Linked DNA regions of Homo sapiens: all the other regions are linked to region 4. Evidence: promoter capture Hi-C in 16 types of primary human blood cells and fetal thymus (Javierre and others, 2016). All regions are on one chromosome and are shown on one strand. The core of a region is centred on a gene start or on the middle of the fragment in contact, and the rest is flanking DNA. Distances in the headings are between cores, read along the strand shown.

What was found. The method cuts DNA at HindIII sites, captures the fragments that hold promoters and counts their contacts. A CHiCAGO score of 5 or more calls a contact.
Region 1: a fragment that was not itself captured here is called in contact with the fragment with the promoter of DDX10 in region 4 in 4 of 17 cell types (non-activated CD4 T cells, naive CD8 T cells, total CD4 T cells and 1 more); the score reaches 8.4 in non-activated CD4 T cells.
Region 2: a contact is called between a fragment that was not itself captured here and the fragment with the promoter of DDX10 in region 4, in 7 of 17 cell types (total CD4 T cells, naive CD4 T cells, erythroblasts and 4 more). The highest score is 11.1, in total CD4 T cells.
Region 3: a contact is called between a fragment that was not itself captured here and the fragment with the promoter of DDX10 in region 4, in 6 of 17 cell types (naive CD4 T cells, total CD4 T cells, naive CD8 T cells and 3 more). The highest score is 11.0, in naive CD4 T cells.
Region 5: a fragment that was not itself captured here is called in contact with the fragment with the promoter of DDX10 in region 4 in 9 of 17 cell types (naive CD8 T cells, naive CD4 T cells, total CD8 T cells and 6 more); the score reaches 10.1 in naive CD8 T cells.
Region 6: a fragment that was not itself captured here is called in contact with the fragment with the promoter of DDX10 in region 4 in 5 of 17 cell types (total CD4 T cells, naive CD4 T cells, fetal thymus and 2 more); the score reaches 9.3 in total CD4 T cells.
Region 7: a contact is called between a fragment that was not itself captured here and the fragment with the promoter of DDX10 in region 4, in 5 of 17 cell types (total CD4 T cells, total CD8 T cells, fetal thymus and 2 more). The highest score is 8.9, in total CD4 T cells.

What each region holds. Positions count from the first base shown.
Region 1 is chr11:108,048,592-108,052,450 of GRCh38, reverse strand. CUL5 (cullin 5) reads right to left here. Exons shown (of 19, transcript NM_003478.6): 4 at 2,385-2,561. Among named protein-coding and RNA genes, the nearest start is that of CUL5, 42 kb to the right of the region's middle. The HindIII fragment of the contact is 4,378 bases long and covers 1-3,859 here.
Region 2 is chr11:108,107,245-108,111,220 of GRCh38, reverse strand. CUL5 (cullin 5) reads right to left here. Exons shown (of 19, transcript NM_003478.6): 19 at 3,460-3,976. Among named protein-coding and RNA genes, the nearest start is that of ACAT1, 12 kb to the left of the region's middle. The HindIII fragment of the contact is 762 bases long and covers 948-1,709 here.
Region 3 is chr11:108,089,458-108,093,358 of GRCh38, reverse strand. CUL5 (cullin 5) reads right to left here. Exons shown (of 19, transcript NM_003478.6): 13 at 3,736-3,867. Among named protein-coding and RNA genes, the nearest start is that of ACAT1, 30 kb to the left of the region's middle. The HindIII fragment of the contact is 5,776 bases long and covers 1-3,901 here.
Region 4 is chr11:108,663,383-108,666,971 of GRCh38, reverse strand. DDX10 (DEAD-box helicase 10) reads right to left here and starts at 1,903. Exons shown (of 18, transcript NM_004398.4): 1 at 1,633-1,903. The coding sequence starts at 1,818. The HindIII fragment of the contact is 12,853 bases long and covers 1-3,589 here.
Region 5 is chr11:108,025,411-108,029,308 of GRCh38, reverse strand. All of the region lies in intron 1 of CUL5 (cullin 5), which reads right to left. Among named protein-coding and RNA genes, the nearest start is that of CUL5, 18 kb to the right of the region's middle. RefSeq lists an enhancer at 3,289-3,388. The HindIII fragment of the contact is 2,762 bases long and covers 1,081-3,842 here.
Region 6 is chr11:108,065,278-108,069,175 of GRCh38, reverse strand. The region is part of intron 7 of CUL5 (cullin 5); the gene reads right to left. Among named protein-coding and RNA genes, the nearest start is that of ACAT1, 54 kb to the left of the region's middle. The HindIII fragment of the contact is 3,557 bases long and covers 1-3,318 here.
Region 7 is chr11:107,993,945-107,997,952 of GRCh38, reverse strand. No RefSeq gene overlaps it. Among named protein-coding and RNA genes, the nearest start is that of CUL5, 13 kb to the left of the region's middle. The HindIII fragment of the contact is 1,607 bases long and covers 550-2,156 here.

The sequences.
Region 1 (3,859 bases), core at 633-3,132, 610 kb after region 4:
GTCTCTACAAAAAAATACAAAAAAAATAGCCCAGTGTGGTGGTGCACGCCTGTAGTCCCAGTGAGCCGAGACCACGCCACTGCCCTCCAGCCTGGGTGACAGAGTAAGACCCTGTCTCAAAATAACTTAGGTTGCATTCACTTGAATACTTCGGGGAAGCAGTATATTTAGCATAATGGTAAAGAAGGGTCGACTGCGTGTGGTCTAATCCCAAAACCTTGGGAGGCCAAGGTGGGAGGATCACTTGAGGCCAGGAGTTTGAGACCAGCCTCGGCAACACAGTAAGACCCATCTCAACAACAACAAAAAATACAAAAATTTGCTAGGCATGCTGGCATGTGCCTGTAGTCCCAGCTACTTGGGAGGCTGAGGTGGGAGGATCACTTAAGTCCAGGAGGGCAAGGCTGCAGCAAGCCAAGATCACACTATTCCACTCTAGCCTGGGCAACACAGCAAGAGCCCATTTCAAACAAAACAAAAGTAAATAAAGAACAAGTGTTTCAGAATCCAACTGGATTTGAATCCCAGCTGTTACTTATTTATCTGCTTTCTTATGTATAAAATGGTCAAAATAATAGTGCAAATTTCAGTGGTTGTAAAAATTAACTATGATAATACATGGAAAATGTTTATTCTCCTATAGTTCCATGGTTGAATTTCAGATATATTGGTGTGTTTGAAATAGACATATGCATATGTTTGTAAAGACACATAAAAAATGTAAAAAGGACCAACTGAAAATCTGATACTGGACCTTATAAAAGGTCTGCAAATCTACTGTTTAGATGTTCCATTAAAATGATAAAAATGGTATATAAACATTGGTGATTATATCAGTACTCCAAGAAACTTGGTCAGATGTAGGAGATACATTAATGACAGCAACAATAACAACAAGAGTTAACAGTTTTATAACACTCATTCTATACCTGGGACTGCTCTATGTATTGTCTGCATGTAACTCATTTAATCCTCATAATCTTGATATAGGTACTATGATTATCCCCCCTTTAGATATGTGAAACCTGGGGTACAGATAGCAAAGCTAACTTTCCACATTTATGCACCTCATCAGTGGCAACACTGAGATTTGAATCCAAAAACTGTGGCCCCAGAATTGATACACTTAATCACTAAGTGGATGCTGCTTCCCACAACCAATAGAATGGCCAAAAAAAGAGGACAAGATTATGAGACTACAAATTAAATCGCAGCCAGAAGTGTTTTTCACTTTTTTTTTTCCCTTGGCACAAATTTCCCATATTGCAGTGATTTCTATCACTGAAGAACCACTGGGTATCTAAATTTACAGTATCCCTGTCAACATCAGATCAAATTTTAAGGCTGGGATGGGGCAACAATGCCCAGGTTACACTATTGTAATGCCTGAGTGTTTTACTGTAACCATCACAGTAAACAGTAAATTGACTAAAGTTCAAATGGCATTTTTTACTTTTCAAATCTACGGTCCCATTTTATTCTTACAAGTGGAAAGATATATGGAAAATGAGGACGGAGTTTGAAGAGCTGAAAGGGAAACCTAGGACCCTTCATATTCAGCACTGAGTTCTTTCCATTAAATCATGACTGGTTACTTGACACAATTTTTAAATAGAAAATAAGCACAGTATATACTGAATTTATAATAGAAGAGTTAAGTAAAAGGGAAATTATAAAGATAGCAGTTTAGCCACAATTAAACATAAAGATATCAGAAGGTAACCTAATAAAAGGGGATTTTTGAGACAGGGAGAAAAGTAATTTAATTTCTAGTAAGGGTATAGGTTGGGTGCAGTGGCTCACGCCTGTAATTCCAACAGTTTCGGAGGCTGAGGCAGGCAGATCACCTGAGGTCAGGAGTTCGAGACGAGCCTGGCCAACATGGTGAAACCTGGTCTCCACTAAAAATACAATAAAATAGCCGGGTGTGGTAGCACGTGCCTGTAGTCCCAGCTACTCAGGAGGCTGAGGCAGGAGAATTGCTTGAACACAGGAGGCGGAGGTTGCAGTGAGCAGACTGCGCCACTGCACACTCCAGCCTAGGCGACAGAGTGACACTCCAGTTTAAAAAAAAAAAAAGAGTACAAAGAAAGAATAGAGAAATAAAATACTGAATACCAGGAGAAGGAGAAAGTAAAAAGGAAAAGTAAAGGAGATAATGGTTGAAGATGCAGATCTATAGCTTAAGACCACATAAAAAGATGAAAGAAGATTGAAGCTAAAGACAAAAAAGAATATTATTCAATAAAATCTAGTTAAGAGCTGAAAAGCAATTGACATGTGAAGTAGAAAAACCCACTTAAAAGTTCAAATTACTTTCAAATGCTTCCAAATTACCCTCTTTCTGAAGAATATTAGGAAAACAAGGAGAAAAATAGTCTTACCTTTCGAACAATACTGTCTTCCACATTTGATTTTTTATTGCTGCCCTGTTTACCCATTAAAGTAATCTCTAGTTGACAAAAAGGTTTTGGTAAAATATCACATTGTGTAAAGAACTTTCGCCATTCAACAATATATGCTTTTAGCAAAGCCGTATCATCTTGATGGCTCAGTACTCGCTGAAAAAAAGAGGTGTACCAATTTGAAATAAATGCAGTTGCTTTGAAAAATTAAGAACATATTCATGCCAAAATTTAAATTGTACATAATTTTTAAATTATTGTACAAGCTCTTATATCCAAAAGAAATTAAAACATGTTCACAAAAAAACTTGTACACGAATGTTCACAGCAGCATTATTCAAAATAGATAAAAAATAGAAACAACCCAAATATCCATTAGCTGAAATACGGATAAACAATATATGGGCCAGGCGTGGTGGCTCATACAGTAGTCCCAGCACTTTGGGAGGCTGAGGCGGGAGGATTGCTTGAGCTCAGGAATTTGAGACCAACCTGGGCAACATAGCAAGACCTCATCTCCACAAATAATACAAAAAATTAGCTGGGTGTGTTGGTGCGTGCCTGTGGTCCCAGCTACTTAGGAGGTTGAGGTGGGAGGATTGCTTGAGCCCCAGCAGTTGAGGCTACAGTGAGCCATGATTGCACCACTGCACTCTGGCCTGGGCGACAGAGCAATACCCTGGCTTGAAAAAAAACTAAACAAATGAAAAAAGAAACCAAAAAACCCCACAATATATGGTATATCCAAACAATAGATATTATTCAGCCATAAAGAGAAACAAATATTGTGAAAGAAAACTAGTCACAAAAGGCCACATATTATGATTCCAATTACAGAAAATGTCAAATATAGACATATCCATAGGGACAACAGATTAGTGATTTAGTGGGTTGGGAGAAGGGAGTGACTGTTCATAGGTATAGGATTTCTTTTTAGGGTGATGAAAATATTCTGGGATTATTGGGTGATGGTTGCACAATTTTATGAAATATACTACAACCCACTGAATCATATCCTTTAAGAGAGTAAATTTTATGGTATATTAATTATATCTCAAGTTTTTAAAAGGTGGTGGAGTCACGGCAGGTGCGGTGGCTCATGCCTGTAATCCCAGCACTTTGGGAGGCTAAGGCGGGCAGATCACGAGGTCATGAGTTTGAGACCAGCTTGACCAACATGGTGAAACCCCATCTCTACTAAAAATACAAAAATTAGCCAGGCATGGTGGCATGCGCCTGTAATCTCAGCTGCTCGGGAGGCTGAGGCAGGAGAATCGCTTGAATCCAGGAGGCGGAGGTTGTAGTGAGCCGAGATCGCGCTACTGCACTGCAGCCTGGGCGACAAAGTGAGAATCCACCTCAAAAAAAAAAAAAAAAAAAAAAAAAAAAAAAAAAAAGGTGGTGGAGTCTATTTCCCCACTATTAGAGTTTGGGCTGGTCCTGTGATTTACTTT
Region 2 (3,976 bases), core at 79-2,578, 560 kb after region 4:
GGTCTGTGGACCAAAATGGAGAGCCACTGGAGTAGGCGAAGAAAAAAATATCCAAAAGAAGAATGTTTGAAACATTTATGCGATGGAGATATTTAAAAGGCAAAACACAGAGGGAAGGAGAGGATGGAATTCAGAAAAAGATAAAATAGTTGGTCTTGAGCAACAAGTGAGGTGATCTCTTCCTCTGAGACAGGCAGGCAGATGAAGATGTACATGATTAGAGGTAAAGTTTACAGGTGGAGAAAAGGCAAGTTAAGAGTTCATGCCTGAAGGCCTTATTTTCTCTGTTTATTTTTTCAAAGCAATATCATCTACTGAGAATTTAGGAGATAAGGTAGAGTAGGGGTAAATATTAATAATTATACATTTAGCAGCCATGGGAAAACAACATGTTAAAGTATTCCCAAGTTCCACTTATTTTTAAGACAGAGTCTCACTCTGTTCCCTAGACTGGAGTGCAGTGGCACAATCACAGCTCACTGCAGCCTCAGCCTCCTGAGTAGCTGGGACTACAGGTTTGTGCAACCAACCACCGCTGGCTAATTTTTACATTTTTGTGGAGATGGGGGCCTCACTATGCTGCCCAGGCTGGTCTTGAACCTGGCTTCAAGTGATCCTCCTGCTTCAGTCTCCTAAAGTGCTGGGATTAGAGGTGTGAGCCACACCTCGACCATCAACCACTGCTGAAGAAAAATCTAAACAGTATCAGTCTGGCTCAGTAATTACAGCATAATAAAGGAAAAAAGGAAATACTCTATTTCCTTTATTATTAAGTAAAATAGGAAGAAGCCATTAACACTCAGAGAAGTCTTCTGTTATTCTCTAGATAAGTAGAGCAAATCAAAGTTTGGATCAGCGCTCCTGAAGTTAGGCCATGACCAATCCACAAAGCAAGCTGTTACTCATTTTACGCACTCCAGGACATCACTATTAAAGATTTCTAAGCTTGGGTGTGTTAACTCTTAACATTTATATATGCACTTGTTTATATTTTTATATGCATGTATTTTGCTTTAATCAGATGTTCACAAAAGTCTAGAACTCAACTCTCACCATCAATTGTTAATCTAAATTGTCACCCTGCTCTGGGTTGTACACTGTCAAAACAGGAGTTCCGTGATATAAAAAGTCCATATTCTATTGTATAGCCCAGAATGGGGAATGGGAAATAAAGTCTCCACACTTAAAATGTAAAATATTGGCCGAGTGCGGTGGCTCATGCCTGTAATCCCAGCACTCCTGGATGCCAAGGGAGGAGGACTGCTCGAACTCAGGAGTTCGAAACCAGCCTGGGCAACATAGTGAGACCTCCTCTCCGCAAATAAAAAAAAAATTACCTAGGCAAATAAAAAAAAAATTACCTAGGTGGTGTGTGCCTGTGGTCCCAGCTACTCAGGAGGCTAAAGTGGGAGGATCACTGGAGCCCAGGAGTTCAAGGCTGCAATGATCTGCAATTGTGCCACTGCACTCCAGCCTAGGTGACAGAAACTCTATCTCAAAAAAAAAAAAAAAAAAAAAAAAAGAACTAAAACATTGAACTATATTCTCAGGCACATGTGCTATCATTCATTCAGTCCTACTATGTGCCCTTTTTACACTGAGGTTTAACAGGGCTGAATCCAACTTGATATTTTGAGGACCCTCTTTAAGAAAATACAAAACTTGTAGGGCTCCCCCTCCCAGAGCCTTGTACAAGGGGCCCAAAAGCTTAAGCTTATTTCTTGGTTTAAATGAAATCTGTTTCTTGGTTCAGATGAAATTTTATACTGAGAAAATACCTTCTCTAGCTTCATTTCCAAGTCAACTCCTCCCCCAACCCCAAACTCCCAAATGCCAGTTTAAGTCCAAGGTTGAGTTTAGAGTCGTTATGAAGTCAAATGTGTTCCTCCATCCAGTTGTCCAAAACATTTATTGACTACTACAGTAGGAACAAGAAATGATCCCTCAATGTAAAGGAGCTCTATAACATTTATTTATGAATCAATGAATGAATTAGTCTGGCCCTGTTGCCCAGGCTGGAGCGCAGTGGTGCGATCTCAGCTTGCTACAACCTCCACCTCCCAGGCTCAAGTGATTCTCATGCCTCAGCCTCCTGAGTAGCTGGGATTACAGGTATGTATTTTTAGTAGAGATGGGGTATTGCCATGTTGGCCAGGCTGTTCTTGAACTCCTGACCTCAAGTGATCTGCCCACCTCACCTTCTCAAAGTGCTGGGATTACAGGTGTGAGCCACTGCGCCCAGCCTGAAATTTCTTTTAAATTTAGTTCCTCTGGGTAATTAAGTCCCTGTATGCAATTCAAGTTTCTTATAGTCAAGAGTTTTTTCGATTATTAAATTGTTCACTTGATCAGTAACTAATTGCTATTATCTGTCCAGTTTCACAACCTTATTGCCAAACTATTTCTAGCTTAAAAATAAGTATTTCAGGCCAGACGCGATGGCTCACACCTGTAATCCCAGCACTTTGGGAGGCCGAGGCAGCTAGATCACGAGGTCAGGAGATTGAGACCATCCTGGCTAACATGGTGAAACCCTGTCTCCACTAAAACTGCAAAAAATTAGCCAGGTGTGGTGGCAGGCGCCTGTAGTCCCAGCTACTCGGGAGGCTGACGCAGGAGAATGGCATGAACCCAGGAGATGGAGCTTACAGCGAGCCGAGATCGCGCCACTGCACTCCAGCCTGGGTGACAAAGTGAGACTCTGTCTCAAAAAATAAAAATAAAAACAAAAATAAGTATTTCACAAATTTTCAAATATATCCAAAATGTGAAATGATTATGTTTTACATTTTTTACTTTTTTTTTTTTTTTTTTTTTTTTTTTGAGACAGTCTCATTCTGTCGCCCAGGCTGGAGTGCAGTGGCACAATCTTGGTTCACTGCAACCTCCGCCTCCCGGGTTCAAGCGATTCTCCTGCCTTAGCCTTCCGAGTAGCTGGGACTACAGGCGCGCGCTACTACACCCGGCTAATTTTTATATTTTTAGTAGAGACAGGGTTTCACCATGTTTGCCAGGCTGGTCTTGAACTCCTGTCCTCAGGTGATCCACCCACCTTGGCCTCCCAAAGTGCTGGGATTACAGGCGTGAGCCACTGAGCCCGGCCCATTTTTTACTTTTATCTGCTATAAAATTTGAATTTTGTTATGACATAGCCTATCTTAGTTGATGAATATATTAACCACTTTCAGGTTGGAATTTTTTTTTTTTTATTACCTCTTCCAGGCATATAGCCACATGCTATCATCAGTGGAAAAGCTACATTCCTGACTGCTCTCATTTTGAATTAGAATTTGAAGTCTAATATAAATAAGTGGGTTACTTTTCATATTTCTGATTCCTAAGGCTGGCTGAGATTAATTTACCTTCAAATTTAAAAATATACCTACTATAAAAATTTTAATTAAACTCTTTGTAACTATTTTATAGTAGAACATCAACATTTTCTGGATAGGTAAAAGCTTTTATATTACATTTTTATTTTGCAAGAAAATAAATTATACAACTTAAAAAATAAAATCCAAAAATTAAGCAGTTCATCAAAATATTTCAGCCTACTGCATACAGAAACTGCTACCACTTAAAATTGTACAGCATTATCATCTCAGTATGTAGTGGCACACATTCAAAATCGTATAGACCATATGAGGATAGATTACAACTTAGAAACTAAAATAAATTTGTTCAACACTCCAGACAACATATAGTGTAGATGACAGGAAAGCTCTCATGTAATGTTTATTTCACAAACATGACCTTGGAAGAATTCATAAGACAGCATCCCAGTCACTTACATGAGAACAGAAAAACCAGCTTGAGTTTAAGATAGCAAATCTTTCTGTAAAACTAGCAAATCTTTCACCCAGACTGAAGTTTTAAAATTTGCCCTTTGAGCAGTGCTAGAGACATCTTACTGCAAATAATGCAAAATACTTTTTAACTACTCAGGTCATATTTTCTATTAAATTTAATAAAAAGT
Region 3 (3,901 bases), core at 576-3,075, 570 kb after region 4:
AGAAGTGATCCTGGCAAAAATGCTATAAAGGAATTCTCAGTATTTCATGACACTGACAGCCCAAAAGATAAAATGCTAGAAGATCATCCAAATTACAGGGGGTGTGACAACTCTCCAAGGCAAAGAAAAGATGCTTACTCTGTCAAGTTACACAAGAAGGCAAAAGCTATTCAAACTACTCTTTATTAACAGCTTTACTGTGTCAGATAATTTATCTACCATAAAATCTACTATTTTAAAGTATACAATTTGGCTGGGCTCATGCCTGTAATCCCAGCACTTTGGGAGGCTGAGGCGGGTGGATCACCTGAGGTCAGGAGTTCAAGACCAGCCTGGCTAACATGGTGAAACCCATCTCTGCTAAAAATACAAAAATTAGCTGGGCATGGTGGCATGCGCCTGTAATCCCAGCTACTCAGGAGGCTGAGGCAGGAAAATCGCTTGAACCTGGGTGGCAGAAGTTGCAGTGAGCCAAGATCGCACCACTGCACTCCAGCCTGGGCAACAAAGTGAGACTCTGTCTCAAAAAAATATAAAAAATAAAAATAAAAATAAAATATACAGTGTAATGAAGTTTAGTATATCTACAGAACTGTGCAACCATCACCACTATCTAATTTTAGAACATTTTCATCACCCCAAAAAGAAACCCCATACTATTTACAGTCACTCGTCATTTCCCCTCCTGGCCCCAACTCCTGGAATTTGTGGATTTGCCTATTCTGGACACTTCACATTAGTGGAATCATACGATATGGTCTTTGGGATTGGCTTCTTTCACTCAGCATTATGTTTTCAAAGTTCACCTAATATTGCAGCATGTATTATTAGTTTATTCCTTTTTATCACAAAAAATATTCCATTGTATGGATAAATCACATTTTATTCATTAGCTCACTGACATTTTGGGTTGTTTCCACTTTTTGACTATTATTAGTAATCTTGCCATGAACATTTGTTTACAAGTTTTTACATGAAACATGTTTTCATTTCTCTTCAAATGAATTACCTAAGAGTGAAATTGCTGGGTCAGCTCTACGTTCAACATTTTAAGGAACTGCCCAACAGTTTTCCAAAGTGTCTGCACCATCTTATGTCTCCACTAGCAACTTACGAAGGTTCCAATTTCTCCTCTTCCTTACTAGCATTTGTTATCATCTGTCTTTATTTTAGCTACCCTAGTGGGAATAAAGTAGTATCTCTTTGTGTTTTTTTTGTTTTTGAGAAAGGGTCTCACTCTGTTGCCCAGGCTGCAGTGCAGTGGCACAATCTCAGCTCATTACAACTTTGAACTTCTGGGCTCAAGCAATCATCCCATCTCAGCCTCCTGAGTAGCTAGAACCACAGGCACACATCACCATGCCTAGCTGATTTCTGTATTTTTTGTAGACATGGAGTATTGTTATTTTGCCCAGGGTAGTTTCTAACTCCTGGCTTCATGCAATCCTCCCACCTCAGCCTTTCAAAATATTTGGGATAAGCAGGAGCCAACATGTTGAGCATTTCACTTGCATTTCACTAATGACTAATGATGTTGAGTATCTTTGCATGCACTTATTGGCCATCTGTCTATCTTCTGTGAAGAGATGTCAATTCGAATCCTTTGCCTGCTTTTAATTATTTGTCGTGTGTGTGTGTGTGTGTGTGTGTGTGTGTGTGTGTGAGTGAGAGAGACAGGATCTGACTCTGTTGCTCAGGCAGGAGTACAGTGGTAAGATCTCTGTTCAATGCAACCTCCACCTCACAGGCTCAGGCGATCCTCCCACCTCAGCCTCCCAAGCAGCTGGGACTAAGGTGCATGCCATCACACCCAGCTAATTTTTTAAATTTTTGTAGAGATGGGGTTTCACCACGTTGCCCAGGCTCATCTCAAACTCTGAGCACAAGCCATCTGCCCTCCTCAGCCTCCCAAAGTGCTGGGATTACAGGTGTGAGCCACCATGCCTAGCCTTGTTTGTCATTTTACTGTTGGGTCTTGATATTTTTTTTTTAACAAAGAAATAACATAGGCCGGGTGTGGTGGCTCACGCCTGTAATCTCAGTACTTTGGGAGGCCGAGGCAGGCGGATCACTTAAGACCAGGATTTCAAGACCAGCCTGGCCAACATGCAAAACCGTGTCTCTACTAAAAATACAAAAATTAGCCAGGCGTCATGGCACAAACCTGTAGTCCCAGCTACTTAGGAGGCTGAGACAGGAGAATTGCTTGAATCTGGGAGACAGAGGTTTCAGTGAGTCAAGATTGCACCACTGCAATCCAGCCTGGGTAACACAGCAAGACTACATCTCCAAAAAAAAGAAAAAAAGAAAGAAAGAAAGAAAATTTAATTCTAAAGGTTTCTCGTAGTAAATATGTATTAGTTTTGCTATTTTCCCCTTTTTCCTATATACTTATAAGTGACAGTAAGAGTTTTGAGTCTTTTGACAATAGTTTTAAAAAGTCACAGAATAATCATTCTTTTTCCTACTAAGCAGTTTCAGTTAGCACAGTAATTTTTACTATCCTAAAGTTCCATGCGAAGGGCTAGCTATAAGTTAAAATATCTGTAGGTCTCTCTCGTGTGTGCTTGCTCGCACTCTCTCTCTCTCCATATATATGTGGAGAGAGTTATATACATACACAGAAATTAAAGATATTTACTTTAATAATTAAAACAAAAAAAGAACTCAAAATACTTTATATGGGAATTTAGTTATAATCAGCATTGATTACCCTAAATAGGCCATCATTTAAAGGTTCTTTTTGCTATACAGAAGTATTTATTGTTATCATTTATAAACATCTCTAAAGTTAAGCATTTAGTACTGAAAATACCTTAAAGATATAATAATTTGTCCTGCAGTCTATTTATTTATTTTATTTTTCTTGAGATGGAGTCTTGCTCTGTCACCCAGGCTGGAGTTCAGTGGCTCGATTTCAGCTCACTGCAAGCTCCGCCCCCCAGGGTTCATGCCATTCTCCTGCCTCAGCCTCCCAAGTAGCTGGGACTACAGGCCCCCCACCACCACGCCTCGTTAATTTTTTTGTATTTTTAATAGAGACTGGGTTTCACTGTGTTAGCCAGGATGGTCTCGATCTCCTGACCTTGTGATCCACCTGCCTTGGCCTCCCAAAGTGCTGGGATTATAGGTGTGAGCCACCGTGCCCAGCCCCTGTAGTCTATTTATTAATAAGGTCAGTTTAAATGAGAGTTGAGGTACAAATGGGAGTGAAACAGTAGAAACAACTCAAGAACAAAGATACTTTACTGAAAGTATTAAGAACATTTATTAGATATCACTTTATTTTATATAATTGATGGTATATTCTTTTTTTTTTGAAATGGAGTCCCACTCTGTTACCCAGGCTGGAGTGCAATGGCACGATCTTGGCTCACTGCAACCTCCACCTCCTGGGTTCAAGTGATTCTCTTGCCTCAGCCTCCCAAGCAGCTGGAATTACCGGAGTGCACCAGCACATCCAGCTAATTTTTGTATTTTTAGTAGAGACGCGGTTTTGCCATGTTGGTCAGGCTAGTCTTGAACTCCTGACTTCAGGTGATCCACCTGCCTCGGCCTCCCAAAGTGCTGGGATTACAGGTATGAGCCAGTGCGCCCGGCCTAACTGACGCTATATTCTTATAAAATGTTTCCTACTTCTTTGACATTAACAATATCTCCAAAATGTATTACTTAAGCACACATATAAATGATGTAATGTATTAGAAAACCAAATATTTAAAAAAATTTACTTACTCTTAGCCACTCTACCATGTTTTCTTCAATTTCACTATCGGCAGAGATGTCTAATATAAGACGTCGTGTCAAATGAGCTTTATGATACCTCATAAAAACATCTTTGTTCTGTACATACTTAAGTACCAAGAGCTGTATGAAAAATAAAGTTACTTTCAGTTCTTAT
Region 4 (3,589 bases), core at 654-3,153:
GAAGTAGCTAAGACTGCTCCTAGGTTTCTAGCTCTACGGTCTGCTGAGATGGTGGAGCTAGGATGTGGTGCTGAAAATGATCCCAACTCATGTCCATGTATTAACTTCTGGAAGGGATGAATGTTACCTTACATGGCAAAAGTGACTTTTCAGATGTGATTAAATTAAAGATCTTGGGATGGGGTGATTATCCTGGATTATCTGTGTAGGCCCTAAACGCAATCGTAAGCGCCCTTATAACAGAGGAACAGAGATAGACTGACACAGGAGAAGGCAGAGACTGGAGTTATGCAGCCACAGGCCAAGGAATGCCAGCAGCCACCAGAAGCTACAAGAGGCAGGAAACAGATTCTCCCCTAGAACCTCTGGAGGGAGCAAGTCCCTGCTGACACCTTGATTTTGGCCCAGTGAAACTGATTTCAGACGTATGGCCTCCAGAACTGTGACAAGGTAAATCTCTGTTGTTGCTGGGCTTTTTTGTTTGTTTGTTTAAGACAGAGTCTCACTCATGTCACCCAGTCTGGAGTGCAATGGTGCGATCTGGGCTCACTGCAACCTCTGCCTCCCGGGTTCAAGCGATTCTCTTGCCTCAGCCTCCCGAGTAGCTGGGATTACAGGCACCCACCACTAGGCCCAGCTAATTTTTTTGTATTTTTAGTAGAGGCGGGGTTTCACCATGTTGGTCAGGCTGGTCTCGAACTCCTGACCTCAAGATCTCTGTTGTTTTAAGCCGCCAAGTTTGTGGTAATTTGTTACAATGGCAACCTTAGTTACAAGAATGTTCCATCTGTTAAATCCCTGATTGTACTGCACTAGAAGGGGGCTGAGAAGCTGAAAGATGTGGGTGAAGACCAACAAACATGGGATTTAGGGAAAGGGAAAAGAGGAATTGACAGACCTGTGGAGTCTGGAGGTTGGGGGAAGAAGTCAGGAGGTCAAAGTGATCATTACAGGTATACTCATCTGGGAACACCAGCTACAATGTGGGGATGATAGGTGACAGAAACAGACCAGCGGTCCAGCTTTTCTAGGCCAATTCTTGGATGGGGACATGAAGCCTGTGGAGAAAATGAGGTGGCCACAGGAAGGAGCATAGATGATGTTGAGGGATGCAGTCTGGCTTCATGGTTAAAAGCAAAGGCTTTGGGATTAGAAAGACATGGATCTAGCTTCCAATTCCACACCACCTACTAAGCGTGAAAGATTCGGACAAGTTTCATTCCTCTTAGAACCTCAATTATCTCATCTGTTAAATAGGATTATTAATATCCATACCTCAGATCAAGTCAAACAATTACTGTAAGCACATGGTGAGTGCTTAAAAATGTAGGTGTCATTATTACCACTATTGTCATCAGTATTATTAATATGAATATGACTGTAGCTATTACAGCATTAGTCTCCCTACCCTTAGGTACGGCCGCATTTCTATTATTTTTTTAGGAACAGTGTGGCAAGCAGAAGAGTGGCCAGAACGGTGCAGAGGTTTGAGCTGTGGCACCCGGCGTGACCTCTCATTCCCGGCCGGGTCCCGGTGACAGATCCGCCGCCTCCACTCTGCAACTCCTCGCCGCAGTGAGACGCTGCCCCGCTGCTGGCCGGCCCGAGCCCCCTCCCCAGCGCCGGCCTCACCTTTTCATAGTTCTGCATGAGGCGGCTGATACTCTCGCGCTCGACCTGCCATTCGGGTTTCTTCAGTTGCTTCCTCAACTGCTTCTTTTTGTTCTGCCTATGGCTGTGTTTTTTCTTCCAGCGATTGAAGCTCCGCACCGGGTCGGGTCGGGCTCCCGAACCCGGAGAGTTGGCCGTTTTGCCCATTGCGGCGGCGGCGGCGACAGCTCGGATCAACCCCAGACACGAGACACCTAAGGCCAGACTCACGGAACCAGCATGGGACAAACGCACAGAGGCGCATGCGCGAACTCAGAAGCCCGCCCCCGAGCTTTTGAAACCGGGGCACGCGCCAATGACGTCAGGAAAAGGAGGGCTGTGATTGGCGAATTGGCTCCTGCTGGGAGGGGCAGCCTGGGGAAACGGGGGCGCAGCACTCCACGGAAGGGGGCGAGCTGAGCCGAGCCGGGAGCACGCCGGCTCTTTAAAAAAAAACGCATGCGCACTGTTGTTGTTACTATGGTGACGTCATACACTGACCCTTTAAGGGCTATTAACACATTTGCTCCAGGTTCAACTTTGCTAAGCGTTCGTGAGTATGTGTGTAAACACATACAATCTGTGAATGAAAATTGTGACCCTCGTTTTGCACTTTTCGGGCCAACGAGCCAAAAGATTTGCCCAGAAGTAAACAGCTAGTTAGTGACTTCTGATTTCCATCCATGGTGGTTGTACTTCCTCAGGAATAAAAATGAATATTCTATATTCTTCTTATGCCCCTCTGGGTTTTCCTTTTCCTCTGGGCCCCTCAGACTCTAGCTGCAACAGCAAGGAAACTGGAACGGAATCAAATTGAATTTGCCTTAAAATGCTTTTATGGAGACAAAATGATAACTAAACGTAAGGAGGTAGGTAATAGAGGCCGGGCACGGTGGCTCACGCCTGTAATTCCAGCAATTTGGGAGGTCGAGGTGGGTGGATCACCTGAGGTCAGGAGGTCGAGACCAGCCTGGCCAATATGGTGATGCCCTGTCTCTGCTAAAAATACAAAAATTAGCCAGGCGTGGTGGTGCACACCTATAATCCTAGCTACTTGGGAGGCTGAGGCAGGAGAATCGCTTGAACCCCGGGGGCGGAGGTTATAGTGAGCCAAGATCGCCCCACTTCACCACAGCCTGGGTGAAAGAGTGAAACTCCGTCAAAAAAAAAAAAAAAAGGAGGTAATAGAAAAGTTATTGCAAGTTGGACATTTAAGTGAACTGGCTTTCAATGAATTGAATTTTTTGACACATTTACCTACAGCCTCCAGGAAAACACCGGATGTGGGTGGGAGAGCTTAGCTGTAGCAAAGGAGATTGGAAAATTGAGTTCAAAGTTCACAGGCAGAATTTTGGGCTCTCAAATTTCCTTTCCAACCCCACATATCCAGATCACTACTCTCAACTCTATGCCCATCCTCCAAACAAGACATGGCTTATTGGAAGGGAGTGAGGACAGGAGGTGAACAAGAGAATTTCCACACTCAGGAACACTAGATGTGGTAGACAGTAAAGCTCAATAAGGAGTGATTACATGAAAGTGTATATACATCCTCAAAAAATTAAAAATAGAACTCCACGTGAGCCAGCAATTTCACTTCTGGGTATGCATAGCCAAAATAATCGAAAGCAGGGTCTCAGATATTTGCATACCGTGTTCACCACAGCACTATAGCTAAAATGTGGAAGCAACCCAGGTGTCTATCAACTGATGAATGAGTAAACAAAACATAATATGTACCTAAAATGGAATATTATTCAGCCTTCATAAAGAAGGAATTTCTGACACATGCCACAACGTGGATAAACTTTAAGAATATTAAGCTAAGTGAAATAAGCCAGTCACAAAAGGACAAATACTATATATGGTTCTATTTATATGAGAAACTTAGAGTTGTCAAAATAATAGAGAAAGTAGACTTGTGGTTGCCAGGGACTCA
Region 5 (3,898 bases), core at 1,212-3,711, 640 kb after region 4:
ACAGCACAACTAATCCCTTCACAGGCACTCTTCTTCTCACACAAATGGGCCGTGGGGAAGCCAACAGGGAGTTGACAATGGGGGAATACCTGGAAAAAGGTATTCTATCCTTCACTCCTTACAGCACAACTAATCCCTTCACAGGCACTCTTCTTCTCACACAAATGGGCCGTGGGGAAGCCAACAGGGAGTTGACAATGGGGGAATACCTGGAAAAAGGGTATTCTAGGCAGAGAAAGCAGCCAATGCAAAGAACATAAGATAGAAACATGCTTAATGTATTCAAGGTAGAGCAAAGTAAACAAAGTGGAGAGAGCAGATAAGGTCATAGAAGTAACTTAGCTTACTGGATCTTACTGAGCTGGATCTTGTAGGACCCTGAAGGCCATTATAAAGACTTTGGTTTCTACTATAAGTGAGATGAAGAGCCATTAAAAGATTCTGAGCAAGAAGTGTCATAATCTTTTTTATTTTTTATTTTTTTTGAGATGGAGTCTTACTCTACTGCCCAGGCTGGAGTACAATGGGGCGATCTCGGCTCACTGCAACCTCTGCCTCCTGGGTTCAAGCAATTCTCCTGCCCTAGCTGGGATTACAGGTGTGCACCACCACGCTCAGCTAATTTTTGTATTTTAGTAGAGACGGGGTTTCACCATGTCGGCCAGGCTGGTCTCTAACTCGTGACCTTGTGATCCGCCCGCTTCGGCCTCCGAAAGTGCTGTGATTACAGGTGTGATCCACCGCACCTGGCCTGAAGTGTCATAATCTTATTTACATTTTAAAATCTCCCTCATTACTATGTTGAGAATATATTATAAGGGGCAAGGGTTAAAACTGGGTGTAGGATTAGGAAGCACTGATGGTGACTTGGACTGAGGTGATAGCAATGGAGGTAGGAGGTATGAGAAGTGGTTCAATTTTAGATGCCCAAAAGGTGGTACTAACAGGACTTCCTAACAGTAAGCATCTGAGATATGAGAAAATGGGAGTAAAGCATGACTTTAAGGCTTTTGTCCAGTAAGTGTGGCACTACCATCAACTAGAATAAAAGAAGATTTGACAGGCTTATTAAGGAAAGCTTGTGAGACTGGTTTTAGATGTATTACATTTAACATATCTATTATACATTCATATGAAAATGTTGAATAGGCAGTCCAATATGGAAATCTAGAATTTAAAAGGCCTATCAGAAAATAAAAACTTGAAGTCATCAGAATACAGATGGGTTTTAAAACCTGTTATTGGATGAGATCACTGTGAGAGAAGTGATACATAAAGATGGAGACCCAAGCCTGAGGTTTTAGATATCCAACATTAAGAGGCGGAGAGAGGAGTAAGAACTAGCAAAGGAGACAAAGAGAGCAACCAGAGCACAGGTGGCAAGAAAACCAAGAGTATGGTATTCTGGACAAAAAGTAAATAAAGTGTGTCAGAAAGACAGAATAATCAATTTTAAGAATTTCTCCTGACAGATCAGGTAAGATAACCACTGAAACAGCAATATGGAAGTTACTGAAACTTTGTCCACAGAAGTTTTTGCAGAGTAGTAAGGACAAATACCAGATTAGAGTGGAATGAAGAGTGGAATTAAGAGAAACGAGGAGCCAGGCGCAATAGTTCATGCTTGTAATCCCAACACTGGGAGGCTGAGGCGGGCGGGTCACTTGAGCCCAGGAGTTCGAGACCAGCCTGGGCAACATGGAAAAAGCCTGTCTCTACTAAAAATACAAAAAATTTGGCTGGGCACGGTGGCTCACACATGTAATCCCAGCACTTTGGGAGGCCGGGGTGGGTGGATGACTTGACATCAGGAGTTCGAGACCAGCCTGACCTACATGGTGAAACCCTGTCTCTACTGAAAATACAAAAATCAGCTGGGTGTGGTGGTAGGCCCCAGTAATCCCGGCTACTCAGGAGGCTGAGGTGGGAGAATTGCTTGAACCTGGGAGGCGGAGTTTGCAGTGAGCCAAGATTGTGCCACTGCACTCCAGCCTGGACAGCAGGGGGAGACTGTCTCAAAGAAAAAAAAAAAAAATTAGCTGGGCATGGTGGCGCCTATAATCCCAGCTACTAAGGCCTGGAGGCGGAGGTTGCAGTGAGCCATGATGGCGCCACTGCACTCCAGCCTAGGCGACAGCGACAGTGAGACCCTATCTCAAAAAACAAATAGTAAATAAAAACAAAAATAAATAAGAAGAAAACTAGAAAGAGTACAGACAACCCTTCACAATTTTTCCTGTATAAGAGAGTAAAGAAATGGCATGGTAATTGATAGGGTGAGAGGAAGTGAAAAAATAATAATTTTTTTTTTTTTTTTTTTGAGACGGAGTCTCACTCTGTCTTTCAGGCTGGAGTGCAGTGGCGTGATCTCTGCTCACTGCAACCTCCGCCTCCCAAGTTCAAGTGGTTTTCCTGCCTCAGCCTCCCGAGTAGCTGGGAATACAGGTGCCCGCCACCATGCCCAGCCAATTTTTCTATTTTTAGTAGAGATGGGGTTTCGCCACATTGGCCAGGGTGGTCTCGAACTCCTGACCTCGTGATCCGCCCACCTCAGCCTCCCAAAGTGCTGGGATTACAAACGTGAGCCACTGCGCCTGGCCAAATAATTTTTTAAAGCTAGGATACAGTATGATTGTATGCTGACAGGAACATTCCAGGATATGAAATGTTGATGATGTGGGGAAAGGGAGAGAAACTGCTAGTGAATTTAAATTGCACTGGATAGGCAAGAGGGAATGGGATCTAGCGCATATGTGGAGGAAGTGACTACAGGCTAAGAGGAGAAGGCAAAAGAATGTACATGTAGGTGCTGGTACAAGGATAGATGTCGTACGACTCTGAGAAGTTCATATTTTATTGCTTTAATTTCCCAGTGATGTGGAAATAACGACAATGTCTGAGAAGATCGGGGAGGAAATGTTAGAATGTTGACAGAAAAGATGTGAAAAATACATCTAGGAAAGTGGAAGAATAAGTGACTCTGGAAATGCAGTATGACTGGCCTCATTGTGGTCATGGATTTAAGGTGCAAATAGCACGGTTGTGTCTTTTTCTCGAGTGACATTCAGCTGCACAGGTACTGGCACTGAAAAGTGAAGAGACAGATTTAACCAGGGTTGTACACTTTTCCCAAGCAGAACAAGACAGGGGCAAGGAAGCAAAAAGTGTATTGAAGGGAACAACTATAATGATTGAGAAGAGAATTTATGTTGGGTAAGGCGGAGAAAATGGACTTCAAGGTGAAAAGAGAAAGAGACTTCTGCTTCCCATCATGACAGAATAACAGGAACCAGATTTTCCCTCCTGCCTAAACAAACTAGAAAACCAAAAGCAGTGCAGGACAGCGCTTCCTGAGAAAAGAAAAACAAATGAGGTGAGCGCTACAAATGTCCAAACATACTGCCTAGAGAGTGTCTCCAGGCCTCATCACAAGGAGGGGAAACCCAAACAGCCGCTAGGGGTTTCACTACATTTAAGAGGCAGAGTTCAGAGTTTGAAAAGGCTGAGGTGACTAGAATTTGTGGCATCAAGGGAGCTCTGGGTATCTATACAGAAGGTCCCTGAGGCCTGTGGCTGAGTACTAACCTGTACCTGGGTGTGAGAAAACTGTAAGAGACTGGGGAAAGAACCATTAGGAAGGAATGGGAATGGGCAGAACAATCAGCAGAGTGCACACAGGGCCAGAAACAGTTAGTGTTGCTACCAGCCAGAGTGGAAACACCCTTTAAAGTGCCAGGCATTGGGTAGAGTCCACAGAAAGTTATTGAGTCTATAGTGGAGCCAAAGTAGCCCTACCCCGAGTGATATTCTGGACACACTCTAACGAAACTTAAAGGTAAGCTTCAAAAGGATCAAACTGATTCCAAGTTACCTAACTGCATCACAGCCAAATCCAAAA
Region 6 (3,898 bases), core at 291-2,790, 600 kb after region 4:
AAGTGATCCTCCTGCCTCAGCCTCTTGAGTAGCTAGGACTACAGGGATGTACTATCAAGTCTGGTTAATTTTTTAAACTTTTCTGTAGAGATGATGTCTTGCTATGTTCCCCAGGCTGGTCACAAACTCCTGGTCTCACATGATCCCCCTGTCAGTCTCCCAAAGTGTGGGATTACAGGTGTGAACCATCAGGCCTGGCCCCAAGGAAGTTTTAAACAGAGGATAAATGTAATGAGATTCTCCTCTCCTCAAGTCATTATTAAAGATCAGTATAATGGTAGTAAGGCAGGTGGTAAGGAGTGGGTGGTTGGGATATGGTAACGAGGCTGTTGAACTATTTCAGGTAAGATAGCAAGGGTCTAGTGCTCTAGGAGGCCATCAGGAAAATCTAAATGAGGCAGAAGATATCATGTCATCTCTGCTCCCTCGTGTCATGTAATTATTTACTTCTCTTTTGGGGATCAGATGAAATTAATAGGTTGTGAGGACTAAAGTTAAGTACAATAAGGCTGATATATTTCTTCTGAAAAACAAATCATCTATCTGTAAATTAAGGGAGGCAATTATGTGTCCCTTAAAAATTTTTTATTAAAAATTCCTTTGGAATTGACATAATGTTGGTAACTACTAAAGCTGAATTTAGGTAATGGGGATTCATTATACTGTTCTTCCTACATTGTAAAAATGCTTAAAATTTTCCGAATAAAGAATTTTCTGTGGTCCCTGCGAGTTGGGGGGCTGAGGTGGGAGGGTCAGTTAAGCTCAGGAGGTCAAGGCTGCAGTAAGCCTTGATCATGTCACTGCAGTGTAGTCTGGGCGACAGAGCAAGACTGTCACAAAACAAAACAAAACAAAACAAAAAAAAAGGTTTTTTCAGGCTCCTCTACAAGAATGATGCTGATGACTTTTAAATGCATATATCCATGTATATTTCTGTCCTAAGAAAATAATACACATGGCTGGGCGTGGTGGCTCATAGCCTATAATCCCAGCACTTTGGGAGGCTAAGGCGGGCGGATCACCTGAGGTCAGGAGTTCAAGACCAGCCTGACCAACACAGAGAAACCCCATCTCTACTAAAAATTAGCCGGGCATGGTGGGTGCCTGTAATCCCAGCTACTCGGGAGGCTGAGGCAGGAGAATTGCTTAAACCTGGGAGGCAGAGATTGCAGTGAGCCGAGATCGTGCCATTGCACTCCAGCCTGGGCAACAAGAGCAAAACTCCGTCTCAAAAAAGGAAAAAAAAAAGAAAAATAAAGAAAAGACTACACATATAAAATGGTTAAGAAACTCTTTCCTTGCAAGGTGGAAATCTCTGCCCCAACTGCTGAGTAATCTTATTCTATAACATCACTGGAATAGGCCCAACTAAACACTTCCACCTTAAGCAGTGAAACCAGATTGAGCATAGGTAAATCTAACAATATATAACTAATAGAGAACAAAGACAAAGTGGAATCCTAATAAACTCTAAGCTCTGTGTTTTCTATTTCATTGAAAACTTTCACTTGAACATTATCCTGTTCAGTGGTAGTTGAAATTTTGCAGATTCTAAAAATCCAGACCAGTGTGTTTCAGACTGTATGTTGTGAAATCAGTTTTAATGGCTGTGACCAGGTTTAAAAAAAAAAAAAATGTACATAGGACAGAACAAAAAATATCAGAGTGTATCACATATTGTAACAATGAATATTATTTCATAAGACTTTTGTTTCAGATATGTACAAATAAACAGTATATTCTAAGCCACAATATAAAATGTATTTCTTATGGTGGGTTACAACGAGGATTAAAAGGAGAGCTAAATTGACAACATAATTAAAGTAAACTGAGAAGAATTTGGTAAATGCTTAAATGAAAGGGATTAGGGAAATAAAAGGATGTTGAATCCATTTCTAGCTTGAGAGGTTAAACAAATTATTATAACAGGTATCCTTTAATGGGCACTTACTTTGTACCAGGCATTATGCTAAATGCTTTACATATAGATCTCATTTAACCCACATGGCAACCTCATGAGGCAGATACTTACTTTATGAGGACATAGACTGAGAGTAGCCACATAACTTCCAAATGTTGCACAGTTGGTTCATAAGGTCTTGAGTTATAATTTGAGGCCAGGTATGTATCTCCATAGCCTCCAACTTTTCTTACTACAGAAGTAGAGCATGTACATACTTAGTGATGGCTACATGCTCAGAACTGAGTTACGTGTTTTAAGGAATAGAGAAGTATAAACATGGTTCATGCCCTCAATGATCTTACAATCCAGTTGGAAACCCATAAACTATATACCTAAAAACATGTGTATGGTTCATATGTACAGATGTGTATGAAAAGAAGATCTTCACTAATAAGCAAATAACTGGAAAATGCATCATTACTATACTATAAACTTAAGGACAAAGATTGTGCTCTGTCCACAGCTATAAAGACTGTGCTGTGTCCTGGCACACAGCTGGTGCTTGATAAGAAATACAAGGCAGTCTATAATTTGCTCCTAAACCTAGTGGTAGAAACAATAGTTACCACGGGAATTCAAATAGGAAGAAACTGATGAAGGCTAGATGATCTGAGCTACTTTATTACAATTTTATTACAAGGTGAGTTAAAAGAATCCTTGCAAGATTTTGGGTAGGCAGAAGAAAACACTGCTAAAATGAATCCAAAAAAAAAAGTAACAGAGTGAGTTGTATGAATAAAAAAATATTTCTTATTGGAGTAGAGTGACTCTTGCTGGACAATATTAAGTTAGAAAAATAGGTTAGGGTCAAATTATGAAGGGTCTTAAAAATCAGGGGTATGAAATAATGATACTCTGGTTTTTTTTTTGAGACAGAGTCTCGCTCTGTCGCCCAGGCTGGAGTGCAGTGGCGTGATCTTGGCTCACTGCAAGCTCTGCCTCCTGGGTTCACACCATTTCTCCCGCCTCAGCCTCCTGAGTACTGGGACAGCAGGCATCCACCACCACGCCTGGCTAAGTTTGTTTTTGTATTTTTAGTAGAAACAGGGTTTCACCGTGTTAGCCAGGATGGTCTTGATCTCCTGACCTTGTGATCTGCCTGCCTCAGCCTCCCAAAGTGCTGGGATTAGAGGCGTGAGCCACCACGGCCAGCCAGTACTCTAGTTTTTGAATAGAAAAGTAAAACAATAAAAGTGATGTTTATGAAAGATTATCCTGAATTCACAAAAGAATAAATACAAATGGTCAGGAATAAGAATAAATATGCAGACCAGGCTGGACAACATAGTGAGACCCTGTTTCTAAAAAAAATAATAAAAAATAGAGGAGTGGAGCAAGATGGCCAAATAGAAGCTTCCACCGATCATTCCTCCTGCAGGAACACCAAATTTAACAACTATCTACACACAAAAAAACACCTTCATAAGAACCAAAAATCAGGTGGGCACTCATAGTACCTGGTTTTAACTTCATGTCACTGCAAGAGGCACTGAAGAGGGTAGGAAAGATAGTCTTGAATCGCCAATGTTACCCCTCCCTCATCCCCCAGCAGCAGCTGTATGGCATGGAGAATCTGTGTGCTTGGGAGAGGGAGAGAGCAGCAACTGTGAGATACTGCATTGAACTCACCACCACCCTTTCACAGCAGAAAGCAAAAGTAGGATGAACTCAGCTGACACATGCCCATGGAGGGAGCATTTAGACCAGCCCTAGACAGAGGGGAATCGCCCATTCCAGTGGTAAGGACTTGAGTTCTAGCAAGCCTCGCACTATAAGCTAAAGTACTCTGGGGCTCCAAATAAACTTGAAAGGCAGTCTAGGCCACAAGGACTGTAACTTCTAGGCAAGCAATAACAAATAATGAGATAGAAGCCATAATAAAATTTCTCCCAACAGGTGCAGTGGCTCATGCCTGTAATCCCAGCACTTTGCCAG
Region 7 (4,008 bases), core at 104-2,603, 670 kb after region 4:
CTTCCCACTAGGTATACACAATCAACTCAGACTAGCAGGAACAGCCTGTTACATTCACCTCTAATATGAAATTAATTCTGCCAAATTAATCTGCATATTCAATAAAATTTCAATATAATACTTCAATCATTTTTTTAACAGAAACTTGACAAGACAATTGAAAATGTATTAGGGAGATAAAATGTGGAAGGACATACTAAGATATGGGCTTAAAAAAATGTTGAAGAAGGCCAGGCTTGATGGCTCATGCCTGTAATCCCAGCACTTTGGGAGGCCGAGGCAGGAGGATCACTTGAGACCATCCTGGGCAATGTGGTGAAACCCCATCTATACAAAAAAATACAAAAAAATTAGCCAAGCATGTTGGCGGGTGCCTGTGGTCCCAGCTACTTGGGGGGCTGAGGCCAGAGGATAGCTGGAGCCCAGGAGGTGGAGGTTGCTGTGAGCCAAGATCACACCTCTGCACTCCAGCCTGAGTGACAGAGCAAGACCCTGTTTCCAAAATAAATAAATAAATAATAAATTTAGTGACTTAAAACAATACAAGCTTATTCTCTTATAGTTCTGGAGGTCAGAAGGCTAAAATCAAGGTGTCAGCAGGACTGCACTCCTTCTAAAGGTTTCAGGAAAAATGTGTTCCTTGCCTTGTCCAGCCTCTAGAAGCTGCCCAAATTCCTTGGCTGGTGGCTCCTTTCTCCATCTTCAAAGCCAGCAGTGTAGCATCTTCTGTCTTTGATCTGCTCCCCTCTACTTCCATTTACACGTGGTCTTTTTTTTTTTTAACTTTAACCTTCGTGCCTTCCTCTTATAAGGACACTTGTGATTATATTGTGGCCATCTGGAAAAGGTTAAACTCCCCATCCCAAGATCCTTAACTTGATCACAACATCTGCAAAGTCTCTTTTGCTGTGTAAGGTAACATGTTCACAAATTCTGGAAATTAGGATGTGGTCATCTTTAGGGGGCCATTGTTTGTCTTCTACACATACCAGCAACTCATAGTCACTCTTATTTCATGTATACTCCAACCCACTTGTAATCAATAGCGTATCATTTCATTCATACACATTTTAGTATGTATTTCTAAAGGATAAGAGCTCTTTAGAAAAATAATACCATTATCACACCAAAAAGCTAACAATAATGTTTTAATATCACTGTTTAGTATTCCAATTTCCCTGACTGTCACATCATTCCTTTATTTTTTGGAGACAGGGTCGTGCTCGGTTGCCCAGGCTGGAGTGCAGTGGTGTGATCATAGCTCACTGCAGCCCCACTTTCCTAGGCTCAAGTGATCCACTTGCCTCAGCCTCCCAAGTAGCTAGGACTACAGGCACATTCCACCACTCCCAGCTAATTTTTGTATTTTTTGTGGAGATGGGGTCTCACTATGTTGCCCAGGCTCAACTCCTGGACTCAAGCAATGTTCCCACCTTGGTCTCCCAAAGTGCTGGGATTACAGGTGTGAGCCACCATGCCCAGCCACATAAATCTTTTCTGTGGTTGAATCAGGAACATATGATCAACACAATATAGGTGGTTGATATATCCCTTAAGTCTTTCTAATTCATAATCTTCTAAGATGGACACTGAGATACCCCACTCTGATCATCCCTCTGTGAAAGACTTATTGCCCCAGATTCTGGCAGTGCTGTTGACAGGCAACATTCAGCTAGCAGTTTCCTCAGGGATTGCCTCAGTGGCAGAGAGCCACGTTACCCAAGGCCACACCCTTTCTGTGTGATAAGAAAGCCAAACAGCCTTATTGCTGATATGGAGGAAGTTTTAGAGGTCTGGATACAAGATCCAAGCAACCACAACGTTCCCTTAAGCCAAAGCCTAATCCAGAGCAAGGCCCTAACACTCTTCGATTTTATGAAGGCTGAGAGGAAGCTGCAAAAAAAAAGTTTGAAGCTAGCATAGTTGGGATCATGAGGTGTAAGGAAAGAAGCTGTCGCCGTAACTTAAAAGTGCAGGGTGAAGTAGCAAATGCTTATGTAGAAGCTGCAGCAAGTTATCTAGAAGATCTAGCTAAGATGACTGATGAAGGTGACTGTGATAAACAATTTTCAATGTAGACAAAATAGCCTTCTTTTGGAAGAAGTTGCCATTTAGAACTTTCATAGCTAGAGAAGTCAATGCCTGGCTTCAAAGCTTCAAAGGACAGGCTGACTTTCCTGTTAGAAGCTAATGCTGCTGGTGATTTTAAGTTAAAGTCAGTACTTATTTACCATTCAGAAAATCCAAGGGCCCTTAAGAATTATGTTAAATTGGCTGGGTGCAATGGCTTACGCCTACAATCCCAGTACTTTGGCGAGGTTGCAGTGAGCCGAGATTGCAGAGATCGCATCACTGCACTCCAGCCTGGGTGACAGAGCAAGACTCCATCTCAAAAAAAAAAAAAAAAAAGAAAAGGATTATGTTAAATCTACTCTGCCTGTGCTCCAGAAATGGAACAATAAAGCCTAGACAAAGCACATATGTTTGTGGCATTGTTTACTGTTTTAAGCCCATTGTTGAGACCCACTGCTCAGAAAAAAAGATTTCTTTCAAAATGCTACAGTTCATCAAAAATGCTTCAAGAGCTCTGACAGAGATGAACAGAGATGAATGTTGTTTTCATGCCTGCTAGCTCACATCCATTCTGCAGCCCATGGATCAAGGAGTCATTTTGACTTTCAGGTCTTATTACTTAAGGAATACATTTCCTAAAGCTGTAACTGCCATAGCTGGCAATTCCTCTGTCAGATCTTGGCAGAATAAATCAAAAACCTTCTGGAAAGGATTCACCAGTCTAGATGACATTAAGGACATTTGTGATTCATGGCAGGAGGTCAAAATAGCAACATTAACAGGAGTTTGAAGGAAGTTGATTCCAGCCCTCATGGATGACTTTGAGGTGTTCAAGCCTTCAGTGGAGGAAGTAACTGCAGATGGGATGGAAAAAACAAGAGAACTACAATTAGAAGTGGAGCCTGAAGATGGGACTGAATTGCTGCAATCTCATGATCAAACTTGAATGCATGAGGAGTTGCTTCTTATGGATGAGCAGAGAAAAGTGATTTCTTGAGATGGAATCTACTCCTGGTGAAGATGCTGAATCCTTCATTGTTGAAATGACAATGAAGGATTTAGAATATCATATAAACTTAGTTAATAAAGCAACAGCAGGGTTTGAGAGGATTGACTCTGATTTTGAAAGAAGTTCTACGGTGGATAAAATGCTATCAAACAACATGGCATGCCTCAGAGAAATCTTTCATGAAAGGAAGAGTCAACTGATGCAGCAAACTTCACCATAGTCTTATTTTAAGAAATTGCCACAGCCACCCCAACCTTCAACAATCACCACCATGATCAGTCAGCAGCCATCAACTTCCAGGCAAGACCCTCCACCAGCAAAAAGACTATGGTTTGCTGAAAGGTTAGGTTCATTAGCATTTTTTTCACAACATTTTAGATTAAGGTATGTACATTATTTTTTCAAACATAGTGCTATTGCACACTTAATAGACTACAGTAGAGTAAAAACATAACTTTTATATATACAGTGGGAAACAAACAAAAAATTCTGTTACAGAAGGTGCAGGATTGGAAAACAAAAAAACAAAAAAAGCCTGGATTCAGTAGCTCATGCCATAATCCTAGCACTTTGGGAGGCCAAGGTGGGCAGATCACTTGAGCCAGGAGTTCGAGACTAGCCTGGGTAATTTGATGAAACTTTACCTCTACAAAAAATACAAAAATTAGCCAGGCTTGGTGGCACATGCCTGTAGTCCCAGCTACTTGGTAGGCTGAGGTGGGAGGATCGCTTGAGCCTGAGAGGTTGAGGCTGCAGTGAGCCAAGACTAGCACCACTGCACTCCAGCCTGGGTAACAGCTCAAGACCCTGCCTCAAACACAAAAACAAAAAACAAAAAAAGGAAAAAAGGCCAGGTGCGGTGGCTCACGCCTGTAATCCCAGCACTTTGGGAGGCAAAGGCAGGTGGATCACTTGAGGTCAGGAGT